Regions from separate parts of the Homo sapiens genome. Here region 1 is linked to region 2. Evidence: promoter capture Hi-C in human tissues and cell types (Jung and others, 2019). All regions are on one chromosome and are shown on one strand. The core of a region is centred on a gene start or on the middle of the fragment in contact, and the rest is flanking DNA. Distances in the headings are between cores, read along the strand shown.

What was found. The method cuts DNA at HindIII sites, captures the fragments that hold promoters and counts their contacts. A contact is called where the count stands out against the background at its distance.
Region 1: a fragment that was not itself captured here is called in contact with the fragment with the promoter of GCM2 in region 2 in 1 of the 25 tissues and cell types used here (dorsolateral prefrontal cortex).

The regions. Positions count from the first base shown.
Region 1 is chr6:11,447,267-11,454,423 of GRCh38, reverse strand. The region is part of intron 1 of LOC105374928 (a long non-coding RNA gene); the gene reads right to left. Among named protein-coding and RNA genes, the nearest start is that of TMEM170B, 87 kb to the left of the region's middle. The HindIII fragment of the contact is 3,371 bases long and covers 1-3,137 here.
Region 2 is chr6:10,880,314-10,887,183 of GRCh38, reverse strand. It overlaps GCM2 (glial cells missing transcription factor 2), which reads left to right and starts at 5,143. Exons shown (of 5, transcript NM_004752.4): 1 at 5,143-5,480. The coding sequence starts at 5,391. It overlaps SYCP2L (synaptonemal complex protein 2 like), which reads right to left and starts at 132. Exons shown (of 30, transcript NM_001040274.3): 1 at 49-132. The coding sequence starts at 57. RefSeq lists an enhancer at 197-965 and a silencer at 4,954-5,248. The HindIII fragment of the contact is 12,545 bases long and covers 1-6,870 here.

The sequences.
Region 1 (7,157 bases), core at 203-2,702, 570 kb before region 2:
TTAACCTTCTGTCTCATTGATCTGTCTAATATTGACAGTGGGGTGTTAAAGTCTCCCATTATTATTGTGTGGGAGTCTAAGTGTCTTTCTAGGTCTCTAAGGACTTGTTTTATGAATCTGGGTGCTCCTGTATTGGGTGCATATACACTTAGGATAGTTAGCTCTTCTTGGTGAATTGATCCTTTTACCATTATGTAATGGCCTTCTTTGTCTCTTTTGATCTTTGTTGGTTTAAAGTCTGTTTTATCAGAGACTAGGATTACAACCCCTGCTTTTTTTTTTTTTTTTTTTTGCTTTCCATTTGCTTGGTAGATCTTCCTCCATCCCTTTATTTTGAGACTGTGTGTGTCTCTACAGGTCAGATGGGTCTCCTGAATACAGCACACTGATGGGCCTTGACTCTTTATCCAATTTGACGGTATGTGTCTTTTAATTGGGGCATGTAGCCCATTTACATTTAAGGTTAATATTGTTTGTGAATTTGATCCTGTCATTATGATGTTAGCTGTTTATTTTGCCCATTAGTTGACGCAGTTTCTTCCTAGCATCAATGGTCTTTATAATTTGGCATGTTTTTGCAGTGGCTGGTACCAGTTGTTCCTTTCCATGTTTAGTGCTTCCTTCAGGAGCTCCTGTAAGGCAGGCCTGGTGGTGACAAAATCTCTCAGCATTTGCTTGTCTGTAAAGGATTTTATTTCTCCTTCACTTATGAAGCTTAGTTTGGCTGGATATGAAATTCTGGGTTGAAAATTCTTTTCTTTAAGAATGTTGAATCTTGGCCCCCACTCTCTTCTGGCTTGTAGACTTTCTTCCGAGAGATCCACTGTTAGTCTGATGGGCTTTCCTTTGTGGGTAACCCGACCTTTCTCTCTGGCTGCCCTTAACATTTTTCCTTCATTTCAACCTTAGTGAATCTGACAATTATGTGTCTTGGTGTTGCTCTTCTCAAGGAGTATCTTTGTGCTGTTCTTTGTATTTCCTGAATTTGAATGTTGGCCTGCCTTGCTAGGTTGAGGAAGTTTTCCAGGATAATATCCTGAAGAGTGTTTTCCAACTTGGTTCCATTCTCCCCGTCACTTTCAGGTACACCAATCAAAAGTAGATTTGGTCTTTTCACATAGTCTCATATTTCCTGGAGGCTTTGTTCATTTCCTTTTACTTTTTTTCTCTAAACTTCTCTTGTTGCTTTATTTCATTAATTTGATCTTCTATCACTGATACCCTTTCTTCTGCTTGTTCAAATCGGCTATTGAAGCTTGTACATGCATCACGTAGTTCTCGTGCCGTGGTTTTCAGCTCCATCAGGTCATTTAAGGTCTTCTCTACACTGTTTATTCTAGTTAGCCATTTGTCTAATCTTTTTTCAAGGTTTTTAGCTTCCTTGCAATGGGTTTGAACATCCTCCTTTAGCTCGGAGAAGTTTGTTATTACCAACCTTCTGAAGCCGACTTCTGTCAGCTCATCAAAGTCATTCTCCGTCCAGCTTTGTTCCATTGCTGGCAAGGAGCTGTGATCCTTTGGAGGAGAAGAGGCTCTCTGGCTTTTACAATTTTCAGCTTTTCTGCTCTGGTTTATCCCCATCTTTGTGGTTTTATCTACCTTTGGTCTTTGATGTTGGTGACCTACAGATGGGGTTTTGGTGTGGATGTCCTTTTTGTTGATGTTGATGCTATTCCTTTCTGTTTGTTAGTTTTCCTTGTAACAGTCAGGTCCCTCAACTGCAGGTCTGTTGGAGTTTGCTGGAGGTCCACCCCAGACCCTGGTTGCCTGGGTATCACCAGCGGAGACTGAAGAACAGCAAATATTGCAGAATAGCAAATATTGCTGCCTCATCCTTCCCCCGGAAGCTTTGTCCCAGAGGGGCACCCTCATGTATGAGGTATCAGTTGGCCCCTACGGGAAGATGTCTCCCAGTTAAGCTACATGGGGGTCAGGGACCCACTTGAGGAGGCAGTCTGTCCGTTCTCTGAGCTCAAACACTGTGCTGGGAGAACCACTGTTCTCTTCAGAGCTGTCAGACTGGGATGTTTAAGTCTGCAGAAGTTTCTGCTGCTTTTTGTTCAGCTATGCCCCGCCCCCAGAGGTGGAGACTACGGAGGCAGCTGGCCTTGCTAAGCTGCAGTGGGCTCCGCCCAGTTTGAACTTCTCCGGCCACTTTTTTTTACCTACTCAAGCCTCAGTAATGGCAGATGCCCCTCTCCCTGCCAGGCTGCTGCCTCGCAGGTCAATCTCAGACTGCTGCGCTAGCAGTAAGCAAGGCTCTGTGGGCTTGGGATCCTCCGAGCCAGGTGCAGGATATAATCTGGTGTGCCATTTGCTAAGACCGTTAGAAAAGCACAGTATTTGGGTGGGAATGTCCCAGTTTTCCAGGTGCTATGTGGAAAACTTCCCTTGGCCAGGAAAAGGAAATCCCCCAACCCCTTGGGCTTCCCGGGTGAGGCGATGCCCTGCCCTGCTTCAGCTCACCCTCCGTGGGCTGCATCCACTGTCCAGCAAATCCCAATGAGATGAACCAGGTACCTCAGTTGGAAATGCAGAAATCACCCGTCTTCTGCATCGATCATGCTGGGAGCTGCATACTGGAGCTGTTCCTATTCAGCCATCTTGGAACAGAATCTCCTGAATATATAGTCTTTTGATACCTCTTGTCTTTCCCTTTATCTCTCCTCTGTCTCCCTTCTCCTTCCCTTTAGCTTCCAGGAGCAAAAGAAGTTTTCTATCTATTAAGTCTCTCCTGAGTCCACTGAACATAGCATTTTCTGTGTATTTCATCACACTACAAATTATCTGCCTCATTAAGAATAAAGTCGAATTGCAATTCAGCATTTGCTGAAGTCATCTCTCCATTTTCTGCTCTGGCCAGAGCATTCAGAAAGACATTTAAGGCTTTAAGTCACCTATTTATTTATAGCATGGTTGATAGACTCATGGATATTATAATGAAAAGCTCTGCTAAATTTGACAATTTGCTACTTACTATATCCTACAGTTTAGGTTAAAAAAAATAGTTTGGGCCAGACATGGCGGCTCACATCTGTAATCCCAGCACTTTGGGAGGCCAAGGCGGGTGGATAACCTGAGGTCAGGAGTTCGAGACCAACCTGGCCAACACGGTGAAACCCGTCTCTACTAAAAATACAAAATTAGCCACGCAAGGTGGCAGATGCCTGTAATCCCAGCTACTTGGGAGGCTGAGGCATGAGAATCACTCGAACCTGGGACGTGGAGGTTGCGCCGTTGCTCTCCAGAGCGACAACAAGAGCAAAACTCTGTCTCAAAAAATCAAATCAAATGTAAAAAAAAAATAGTTTGGAACATCAGCTTGGTTGGAGGGAAGAGTCTTCTTTTCCTCAAAGAAATAAATGATTCCCTCTTCACCTGAGGTATGTGTAGGAGACAACTTGTAGAGAGTTGGAGGCAAGAGTGCTGGCAGGCAGGCTAGTGTCACCTAACCCGCTGCAATTGACTCACTTCTGAGACTGCAGTTAGGAAGTATGCAAAACGTCATGAACCTTGGGGATGAAAATAAATCTGAGACTATCAAAGATCTAATTTATGTCAAAAACTAAATGGATTCTGGACCAGTGCTGTCTAATAGAAATGTAATGTGAGCCACAAAACCAAGTCACTGTGCAATTTTAAATGTAGTAGCTCCATTTGAAAACTAAAAAGAAGCGTTACAACTCTTTTAGAATTCAGAATTCTAAATTCTAAAGGACTAGTGTTAGAATTTCTAACAGGTTTTTTGGTTTTCACTGAAAAAAAACCCCACAGGAAAATCAAAGTAAAAATAAACAGTTAAAACTATAATAGCATATTATTTAACCCAATATGTACAAAATGTTATATTTTTTAATATTTGGCTTTCTTATTTTTCATTAGTCTTCAAAATCAACTGGGACTTTTACATGTACAGCACGTTTTAAATGACCCAAAGCCACCCCGCTGGTCAGCTCAGGTCTAGACAATCTATTAAATGAACCAAATTGCCTTTAAAATCTTTGCAGGATTTTTAATAGCTGGATCAAAAGCACTAGCTGAAATCATGAAGCTAAAACTGCATTTTTATCATAATGAGGTCTGACCTCTTTCATTTATAATTAGAACTCCAACCACCTAACAGGCTTTCCCTGAGGATTATTTTGTCACCCAATTCCATTTCACAGGCTCATTCATCTAAACTCATGTGACGAGCAGCATCACGTTCCCTCACACCACCCTCAAGCACCACACACAAACACACACACACTCCCCAGCCCTCTGCAGCATCCCATCCTCTAGGCCTTGGGAATTGCTTTAAAAATTATGAAACTACTTTAATTCTGATTCACTTTTGCAGCAAAACTCTTAGGTCAAAGCCTGATCTAGGTATTTGTGTGACCACAGGGAGGACCCCAAAAAGTGAATGGCTCTATAGTTTGCAAAAGCTTTACAGTTGCTCCCCTGTATTCATGAGTTTCACATCCATGAATTCAACCAAGCACGTATTAAAAATATTTTTAAAAAATGAATATTTTTGTCTGCACTGAAAATATACAGACATTTTTTCTTGTCAATATTCCCTAAACAATAGAGTATAACTATGTAGATAGCATTTACATTGTATTAGATATTATAAGTAATCTAGAGATGATTTAAAACATACAAGAGGATGTGCATAGGTTATATGTAAATACTACACTGTGTTATACAAAGGACTTGAGTATGTGTGGATTTTGGTATCCATGGGGGTCCTGGAACCAATCCCCCAGGGCCACGGAAGGATGAGTGTATTTGCTAGGGCTCATTTTTTATGTGCTCTGGGCCTCTGGTCAAATTTTGAATTAGAAAGGAGACAAAGGGCAACCTGTCACTTGTGGACAAAATAATATATATTGTCATTGGCTGTGGAAGCAGCCTGAGCACAATAGACTGTAATTAGAGAAACTCTCTCATTCTTATTACAAGTCGCAATTGTGATGTTTCTGGAACTTAACATCTCTCCTGAGGCAAGAATTACCTGTGAGATGACTGAGGAAGGCATATTTCTACATTACACTACCAGGGAGATCTCAGAGAGCACTGACTTGATCTCAGAGAGAACTCAGAGTGCCAATATTTATCTTGACTGTCCTTAGGAAAACTCATGTCCCAGTGATATCCTAGCTTAACCTGGGAAATTTCCTACTGGAAAATATTGTCCTAGAGATTGTGCTGGTTGAGATGTGGAAATGGGTAGGATGAGAATTCTTGGACATGACTGATACCAGTGAGTAGGGGAGGGGTTTTTCCAAAGGGGAGATGAAGACTCACACTCCAGTTGTTAGAGAAGGAAAAGCCTCCTTAGAGGGAGGGAGACCCAAGGGTCAGGGGGCAAGGCTGGGTATGTGGTGTATATCTACGAAGGGTTTAACTCTGTGTAATTTTCTTTTGGACTATGGAAAGTAGTCTTGTGAAGCATACACTATTGATTAATTTCCCCTCCTATACTGTATTCCTTTACAGTTTTTTAAAGTAAAATTCTTGTATAATTAAATAAAAACAGGACCAGTTGCATAATTTACAGGACTAGTGTGAAATTAAAATGTGGGAACACTTTTTCAAAAGTATTTTTCAGAATTTTCACCCAATGTGTTATATACCTACAGTGGAATGTTATTCGCCCTTAAAAGGGAAGGAAATGCCACACATGCTACAATATGGATGGATCTTGAGGATATTATGCTAAGTGAAAAAAGCTAGCCACAAAAGGACAAATACTGTGTAATCTCACTTATATGAGGTACCTAGAGTAGTCAACTTCAGACAGAAAGTAGAATAGTAATTAACAAGGATTGAGAGAGAGGAAATGGGAGTTGTTGTTTAATGGAGAAAGAATTTCAGTTCTGCAAGGTAAAAAGAGTTCTGGAGATTGGTTTCATAATGTTAATGTACTTAACTCTACTGAATGTAGATGCAAAAATTGATACAATACTGCTATGGTTTGTTCCCATCAAATTTCATTTTGAAATTTAATTTCCACTGTGGTGGTGTTGGCAGGTGGGGCCAATTGGAAGGTGTTTGGGTCATGGGGGTGGATTCTTCATGATTAGATTACTACCCTCCCTCAGGGGTTAATGAGTTTTCACTCTTATTAATTCCTATGAGAGCTGGTTATTCAAAGGAGCCTGGTCCTTCCCCCACCCCTTTCCTCTTCTTTCACCATGTGATCTCTGCACATGTCAGTTCCCCTTTGCCTTCCACCATGAGTGGTAGCTTACTGAAGCCCATACCAAAAGCAGATGCTGGTTCCATGCTTTTTGTATAGCCTGAAGAACTGAGAACTAAATAAACCTCTTTCTTTATAAATTACCCAAGTTCAGGTATTCCTTTATAAGCAACACAAAACAGATGGTAAATCTTATGTTGTGTGTATCTTACCACAATTAAAAATAAAATTTAAACAAATTTAAATTATTAGGAATTACAAGATGGCAATTGCAGAACACTAAAATAAGTTTGGGACCCTTTTAAATGTGACATTCTCTGTGATTGCATAGGTTGCAGACCCATGAAGCTGGTCCTGGGTATATGAAACAAAGTAATAAAAGAAAATATGGCCTTTTCAAGATTACTTCCTGTCTGACTCCCAAGTGGTGGTAGCAGCAAGAAGGATTAAAGTACCAGAATTCCAGATGATGATCAGTAGCATGCAGCAGGCTACTAAAGACAAATGAAAATTTTAAAAGCAATCAGTGTAAAACCTAGATTATTTACAAAAGAAACAACTAGACGAATAGAAAAATTCTCATTAGCTATACTAGAGTCCAGAAAACAATAAAATAATGCCTTTAAGCATTAGAAGAAAATAGTTACCAACCTGGGAAGTTTTCTCTAGCTAAATTATTATTCTTGAGTAACGGTAAAATAAAGACAATTTCAAATGAATCAAACCTGAGAGTTTATGACTCATGGTCTTTCCATCACTGAAAGAACTACAAAAGGTGTACATTAGTAAGAAGAAAATCAAACCCAGAAGAAACAGAATGCAAAAAATATGCTGTAGTTTTCCATTCTACTCCATGTCTCATAATTCTTCATATTTTCTATTTCTTTTTTCCTGTGATACATTCTGAATATTTTCTTTGTTTTTTTCTCATTTACTAATTCTCTATTTATTGGGTTGCTAACAATTTTAT
Region 2 (6,870 bases), core at 3,894-6,393:
GCCCTAGCACTGTGGACAGAAGGTCCGGGCCCTTCGGGGGTCACTCACCGCTTGCATAACGAGGCTTCTTCGTTCCTGAAGCGACGCGCCGCTCAGCTTTGTTGCGCTCGGTCGGCCCTCTCCTGCTTCCCCGCCCAAGAGCCCCGCCCGCTGGGGGCGCTGCCGAAAGAGCCCTGGTGGCGGACCGCTCTTCGAGTCGAGTCTTCTTCCGCAACTGTAATTGACGAATCCGCCCCCTGAAGTTTACTAGAGCTCTGTGTTTTGAGACTCAAGAAGCGCGTGCAAGTAACTAGCGCACACAGGCCAAACCACCTGGGCGCACGCACTCACCCTTTAAGAGAAAGCCAGCACTCAAAGGATGTGAACTACGTCATTTAAACGTTCCTTATTTGCGAAATTCCAAACAGATAGGCGTTCGCTTTGTGGTAGCTGTTCCAAGTTTTTGCCCCGCCTTAAAAAGCCAGAGGGGCGGCCAGGCGCGGTGGCTCACGCCTGTAATCCCAGCACTTTGGGTGGCCGAGGCTGGTGGATCACTTGAGGTCAGGAGTTCAAGACCAGTCTGGTCAACATGGTGAAACCTTGTCTCTACTAAAAATACAAAAAATTAGCCGGGCGCGGTGCACGTGCCTGTAATCCTAGCTGTTGGGGAGGCTGAGGCAGGAGAATCACTTGAACCCGGGAGGCGGAGGTTGCAGTGAGCGGAGATCTCGCCACTGCACTCCAGCCTGGGGGACAGAGTGAGACTCCGTCTCAAAAAAAAAACAGCCAGAGGAGCAGTTTTTGGTCCATTGATGTGTGCAGACAGAAGCCGAACCCTTTCCTATGGTAACCAGACTTGTACCCGATATTATTAATACATTCCTGATTTCACACACACACAAAGTGTGTTTGGTGGTTGTTTTTTAAGTACCGTGGTGGGGAGGAAGGGGAATTTTTTTTTTTAATCAAAGCAAATAGTTTTGTTTTTGTTTTTGTTTTTTTGTTTCTTTGTTTGCCTATTTCCTTTAACCTGACAAGTATGCGTACCAATGGCTAGGCTGATTCGGATAGGTGGCCAGTTGTGTGAACACGGTGGCAAAATTAAATTGGACTAGAGTTTTCCACAAAAAACAAAAAAAAGACCCCTCCAATCCAAACATCCTTTGTGTAAAAATCAACTTGTATTATAACTAGACCTGTGAGTATTTCAAGTCATAATATGTACGGAAGATATTTGTCTACACCAAAGCAAAACATAACAAAACCAGAACCCCTGTTAGCCCAGGACTTGCACACATTTCTAGTCCGTTCAAAACAATGTTTATGTCAAAGCCTGTCATATCAATTTCCTGGAAAGTATAATGTAAACATTCTTACATTAATTTACCTATTTTAATCTAAACCAAGGAAATTCAAACGCAAGTTTTTTTCCTTTTCAATGAATGGACTTTTGTAATATTAAACTAGTAATCAAGACAGGAACAGCTGTGAGTATAAGCTATTGTGAGTCAATACAAATATAATACCAGGGCAAGAAAGAAACAATGAATAATAAGAAGCAATAAACAAAATACTACAGTTTAAATGAATTTTAAGAGAATATTTAAAAATTAGAGTTTTCATAATATTAGATAGAAAACTTAATCATCTATTATTTTCAGGCTTTGGGGGAAAACATGTCCTTCCAAAGTCTATGGTGCAATGCATTCAAATCTTTAAGAGAAATTAAAAATAACAGAATAGGCAAAATACCTTTTATCTGGTTTTTTTTTTACTTTGATTAGCTTCTTTTACTAACATGTTTTGTCTTAATATAATTTATGGCAACTTGAAATGCATACTCTAATTCTTCTCAAACTAAATATAGTAGAGGCTCTATGACATTTCTTTGGATACCAGAATCCCTTTAGAAATTAATTGATTTGCCTTTTACATAAAAAAGTTTTATTTATTTATGTTTTTGACGGGTCAGGTCTCTCTAGGAACATTCCAAAAGCACAGAGACAAGAACTATTCTAGCACTGCAATAAGACCAAAAATTAATTTCTATGCATTTTCAGAGGTAACTTTAAATCACCATTTTAAAGTTATTTTTAGAACATTTGAAAGGATAAGTTATCTTAGACTACAACATTTAATGAAATACTATAATTAAAATGGATAATCAATAAATTTTCATTCAATTTTGGAAGACAAAACAACACGAAAAGCAACTGAATCAACAGGAGTTTCGGGGACCTTTGGCAGACAGTTAATAAGATGAAAAATCTGTGAATGAAACTCGTGGGTGAAGAGTAGACAGATCTCTTCGTTCCCAGCTAGACCTCAGTGGCGACCATTTGAGAGTGATTTTAATCAGAAACCTTGACTGACAGGACCTTTTAGGAGGGGAGAACTTCGGGAGAAAGGAGGCTGGGAATGAACAAATCACTTTCTTCTGCTAGGACCCTTCGGCTTTGACTGGGAGGAGGACCCCAGCTAGAAGATAAAGGAGGAAAAAATCGCGAGGAACTGCTCGAAGTTGGCCTTTCTTCCCAACAGAGTTCGCTGGTCCGCTGCCACTGGCAGGCTTCTCTGACCGACTGGGATACTTTTTCTTTCTTCTTTCCTTTTCTTTTTTTTTTCTTTTTCTTTTCTTTCTCCTTCCTTGCTTCCTTCCTCTCTCTCTCTCTCTTTCTTTCTGTCTTTCTTTCCTTCCTTTTTTTTTTTTTTTTTTTTGAGACAGGGTCTCGTTCTGTCGCCCAGGCTCGGCGCTATCTCAGGTTACTGCAACCACTGCCTCCTGGATTCAAGCGATCCTCCCGCCTCAGCCTCCCAAGTAGCTGGGACTACAGGCACACGCCACCATGCCCGGCTTTTTTTTTTTTTTTTTTTTTCGAAGAGACAGGGTTTCGCCATGTTGCCCAGTCTGGTCTTGCACTCCTGGGCTCAAGCGATCCTCCCGTCTCGGCCTCCCAAAGTGCTGGGATTACAGGCATGAGCCACTGCGCCCAATCGCGGGATGGACTTTTCTAAGCAAGCCTCACTGTGCCTTTGGCGCGGGAAGTAAAAGGACAGGGAGCGTGGACCACCCTTAGCTTCCTGATGTGGTTTCGCTCTTCCTTTATCCGCCTTTTGCCAACCGAAGGCACTAATCCTGCAAGAGGCGTTGGCATGGGCGCCCTCCTGGCCGAGTCCCGGGCAGCACCCGTCCGTGCGCTCAGCACGGGCTTTGCGGTGCCAAGGCCTAGGGTGCGTCGCTTCCCGGGTCTGGAGGGTCATGGATTCGGTTCATCCTCCTCTATCAAGGGATCTGCCGTGAGGAGTTGGCTCCTCTTCTCTGGCTGGGGCTGGGAATGGAAGCGTGCAGCTGCAAAACAAGGACGCGGGCAATAAATTCCAGAAGCCCTTTCCCCTGGCCGCCAAGAATCCGGCCTTGGGGTAGTCAAAGAGTGACTTTAGTCACTTCAATCGGTTTTGTTTTGTTTTGTTTGTTTTTTGTTTTTTGTTTTTTTTATATATATATATACTGAGGGTCTCCATGTGCCGGAGTAGCCCTGGGCGAGTCGGCTGCTCAGATGATGAAGGTTTCGTCCCAGCCCCGGAGAACCCACATTGTCCTGCGCACCTCCGCACCACCGCGATTCTCTAGTCCTCCAAAGCCTCCCAAGACTGTAATGGAGTAAATTCAATTTCGTCGTGATATTTCCAAGACTATATCAGTGAAGTTTTTTTTTAAGAGTTGTGGGCCGGGCGCGGTGGCTCACGCCTTTAATCCCAGCACTTTGAGAGGCCGAGACAGGAGGATCACGAAGTCAAAAAATCGAGACCATCCTGGCCAACTTGGTAAAACCCTGTCTCTACTAACAATACAAAATTAGCTGGTCGCGATGGCGCGCCTGTAGTTCCAGCTACTCGGGAGGCTGAGGCAGGAGAATCGTTTGAACCTGGGAGGCGGAGGTTGCAGTGAGCCGAGATTGCGCCACTGCACTCCAGCCGGGAAGACAGAGTGAGACTCCGTCTCAAAAAAAAAAAAAAAAAAAAAGATTTGTGTTCGGGTGGGTGGCAACTGAGAGCTCGCCGAACCACAACCTCTTATTTAACAGATAAACAGATAAGGAAGCTGAGACCCAGAGGGAGCCAAAGCAGTGGAGAAAGCGAGTTCTTTGGGACTTTTCCCCTCTCCCCTTTCCCTCCTTCCCCAGGCTCCCACCTACCCCAGGCTCCCACCTACCCCGGGCTCATTTCCGCCCCCCACCTCCTCCAGGTTCACTTTGTAGGACTCCGTTCCTGCAGGGCCAGGTCCCTCCGAAGTCCCCGGGAGCGTGAAGGCGCCTGGGCTCGCGAGCATACGCGGAGGCTTGGCGCACCCTGGCACGTCCCAAACAGCAGAGCCAAGACTGCGAGACACTCACAATAGTTAGGGGAAGAGCCGGCAGTGGAGGCCCAAAATGGGCTGACCCCTAACTAGGAGGCGTGGGCGCGGTTATTCAGGCTAGGGCGCACGCGGACGGCAGAGGGGCCCACGCACGGTTCCCATGCTCTCCTGGAATTGAGTGTTGGCTCTCAGGGGACTTTGCTGGAAAGCCTCCATCTAAGCCCCTTTCCGAAATCAGGGAAGCTGGACGCGTTTAGAAAAAAGAAAAAAAATAGGCCGGTCGCGGTTGCTCACGCCTGTAATCCCAGCACTTTGGGAGGCCCAGGCGGGCAGATCGTCAGGAGTTCAAGACCAGCTTGGTCAGGGTTTCGCATGGCTAAAACCTGTCTCTACTAAAAATACAAAAATTAGCCAGGGTGGTGGCACGGACCTGTATTCCCAGCTACTCGGGAGGTTGAGGCAGGAGAATCGCTTGAACCTGGGAGGCAGAGGTTGCAGTTAGCTGAGATGGCGCCACTGCACTCTAGCCTGGGCAACAGAGTGAGACAAAAAAGAAGAAAAGAAAAGAAGAAAATAATAAGGTTTTAAACTTAAAGGATACATTCCTACTTACCCTCTCCACCCCCACCCTCTGGCTGCAGTTTCCATTTGCTTCCAGGGCTGAGTTTAACCTCCACCTCCGTTCCTGGGACTGTGGTGGAGGGGGCGACCGGCCCCTGGAGCGTGGGCGCTAGCGAGGTAGGCGAGACAGGGCGGAGCCCCCCGGAGGTATATCTTTATAAAGGAGGGGGCAGCTGCCAGAGGTCGATGCTGCCGTTCGGGTGGAGAACGTTCAGCACCGCGGCCAAGGACAAGGCCCCGCCCGGGTCCATAACCATTGTCCCCAGCTTCCAGATATCTAAACAGCCTCTCTCTCTTTCTCTCTCTCTGCACCTCCCCTTCACACACCCCACTTTCTTCTTTAAAGAGAAGAAAAAAAACCCACCTGGCGCACCTGTCCTTTTTTCTTCTATTTTTCAGAACCCTGGGCGGAAAGCGCGAGCGAGTTGGGCAGATGCCGGCGGCCGCGGTGCAGGAAGCGGTCGGCGTGTGCTCCTACGGGATGCAGCTCAGCTGGGACATCAACGATCCGCAGATGCCTCAGGTAAGTGAACCGGGTGTGTGCGGGCACGCGGGGCGCTGTCCATCCGAAGGAGGGAGAATGGCATTCGAGTTCTTGAAGAGTCTGCGGACGGACCATACACACACACACACACACACACACACACACACACACACACACACACACACACATACCCGCAAAATTTCTGGGTTTCTGAGGCCCTCTCAAGTGTAGAAAGAAAACTGGACTCTACAAAAGGCTGAGTTGGGTTTAGAAATGTGTCTTCTTGGCCGGGCGCTGTGGTTCATACCTGTAATCCCAGCACTTTGGGAGGCTGAGGCGGGTGGATCATCTGAGGTCGGGAGTTCAAGACCAGCCTGACCAACATGGAGAAACCCCGTCTCTACCAAAAATACAAAATCAGCCCAGCGTGGTGGCGCATGCCTAAAGTCGCAGCTACTCGGGAGGCTGAGGCAGGAGAATCGCTTGAACCCGAGAGGCAGAGGTTGCGGTGAGCCAAGATCACGCCATTGAACTCCAGCCTGGGCAACAAGAGCAAAACTCCATCTCAAAAAAAGAAGAAGAAGAAGAAGAAGAAATGTGTCTTCTCCCAGCAATTTCCTTGTGCTTGCCTGAAATCACAAGCAAAGCAGCAGGAAATGTTGGTCAGGCTCCACATTCCCAGTCTTGGGGAGAGCGGGACGCCTGTCCTTTCACTTCCCTTTAACCAAGGTAGAAATTAGGTGCCTCTCTCCTTATTCATTTACTTTAAATCCATGAGGAAGCTAAGGAGAAAATCTAAGCAGATGTAAATACCACTGCTTCTCATGCAGCAAAACTGAGGTACAACTGTAAAGTGAATCTAATGACCTAAATTTAAAACAAGTAGCCCGACTTGAGCAATTTGCTCAGACCTCCCTAACTGCTCAGAGGAAGGAGGCCCCATAGTCATGCCAACAAGGCCACCTGTACCCAAAACTTACTTCTTCTCTAATGACAAGCAAATCATCATTCTTTTAGGGTGAATTTGTTGTATTTTGCTTTATTTCAATAAAGCAAAAATGGTTTGGAGCCAAGTCCAAAGAATGACTGGGGTGGATGAAGTGGTGAATGAAGTGGGTGGTTTGAAGCCAGTTCCAGAGAATGACCAATTATCATTAGTCACACTGGTTAGGGCCAAAATTGAGTGATGTTGAAGTCCTGGCTGTAGGGGGTGGGGGGTGTAGAATGAGAGTTGCTTCCCTGCCATTTGCAGATGTGGGCTTCCAGCAATGTTGTGGCACAGGGATAAAAGAGATGGGTCATTTTGTCCGCAACTAAAATGTGTCTGATAGGTGTTCAGATGAATAACAATTCATTGCAACATTGTGTCGCCTCTCATAGAGGTCAGCACTTTTTTGGATCCATATATTTGTAGTAGGTTAGGTGTGTT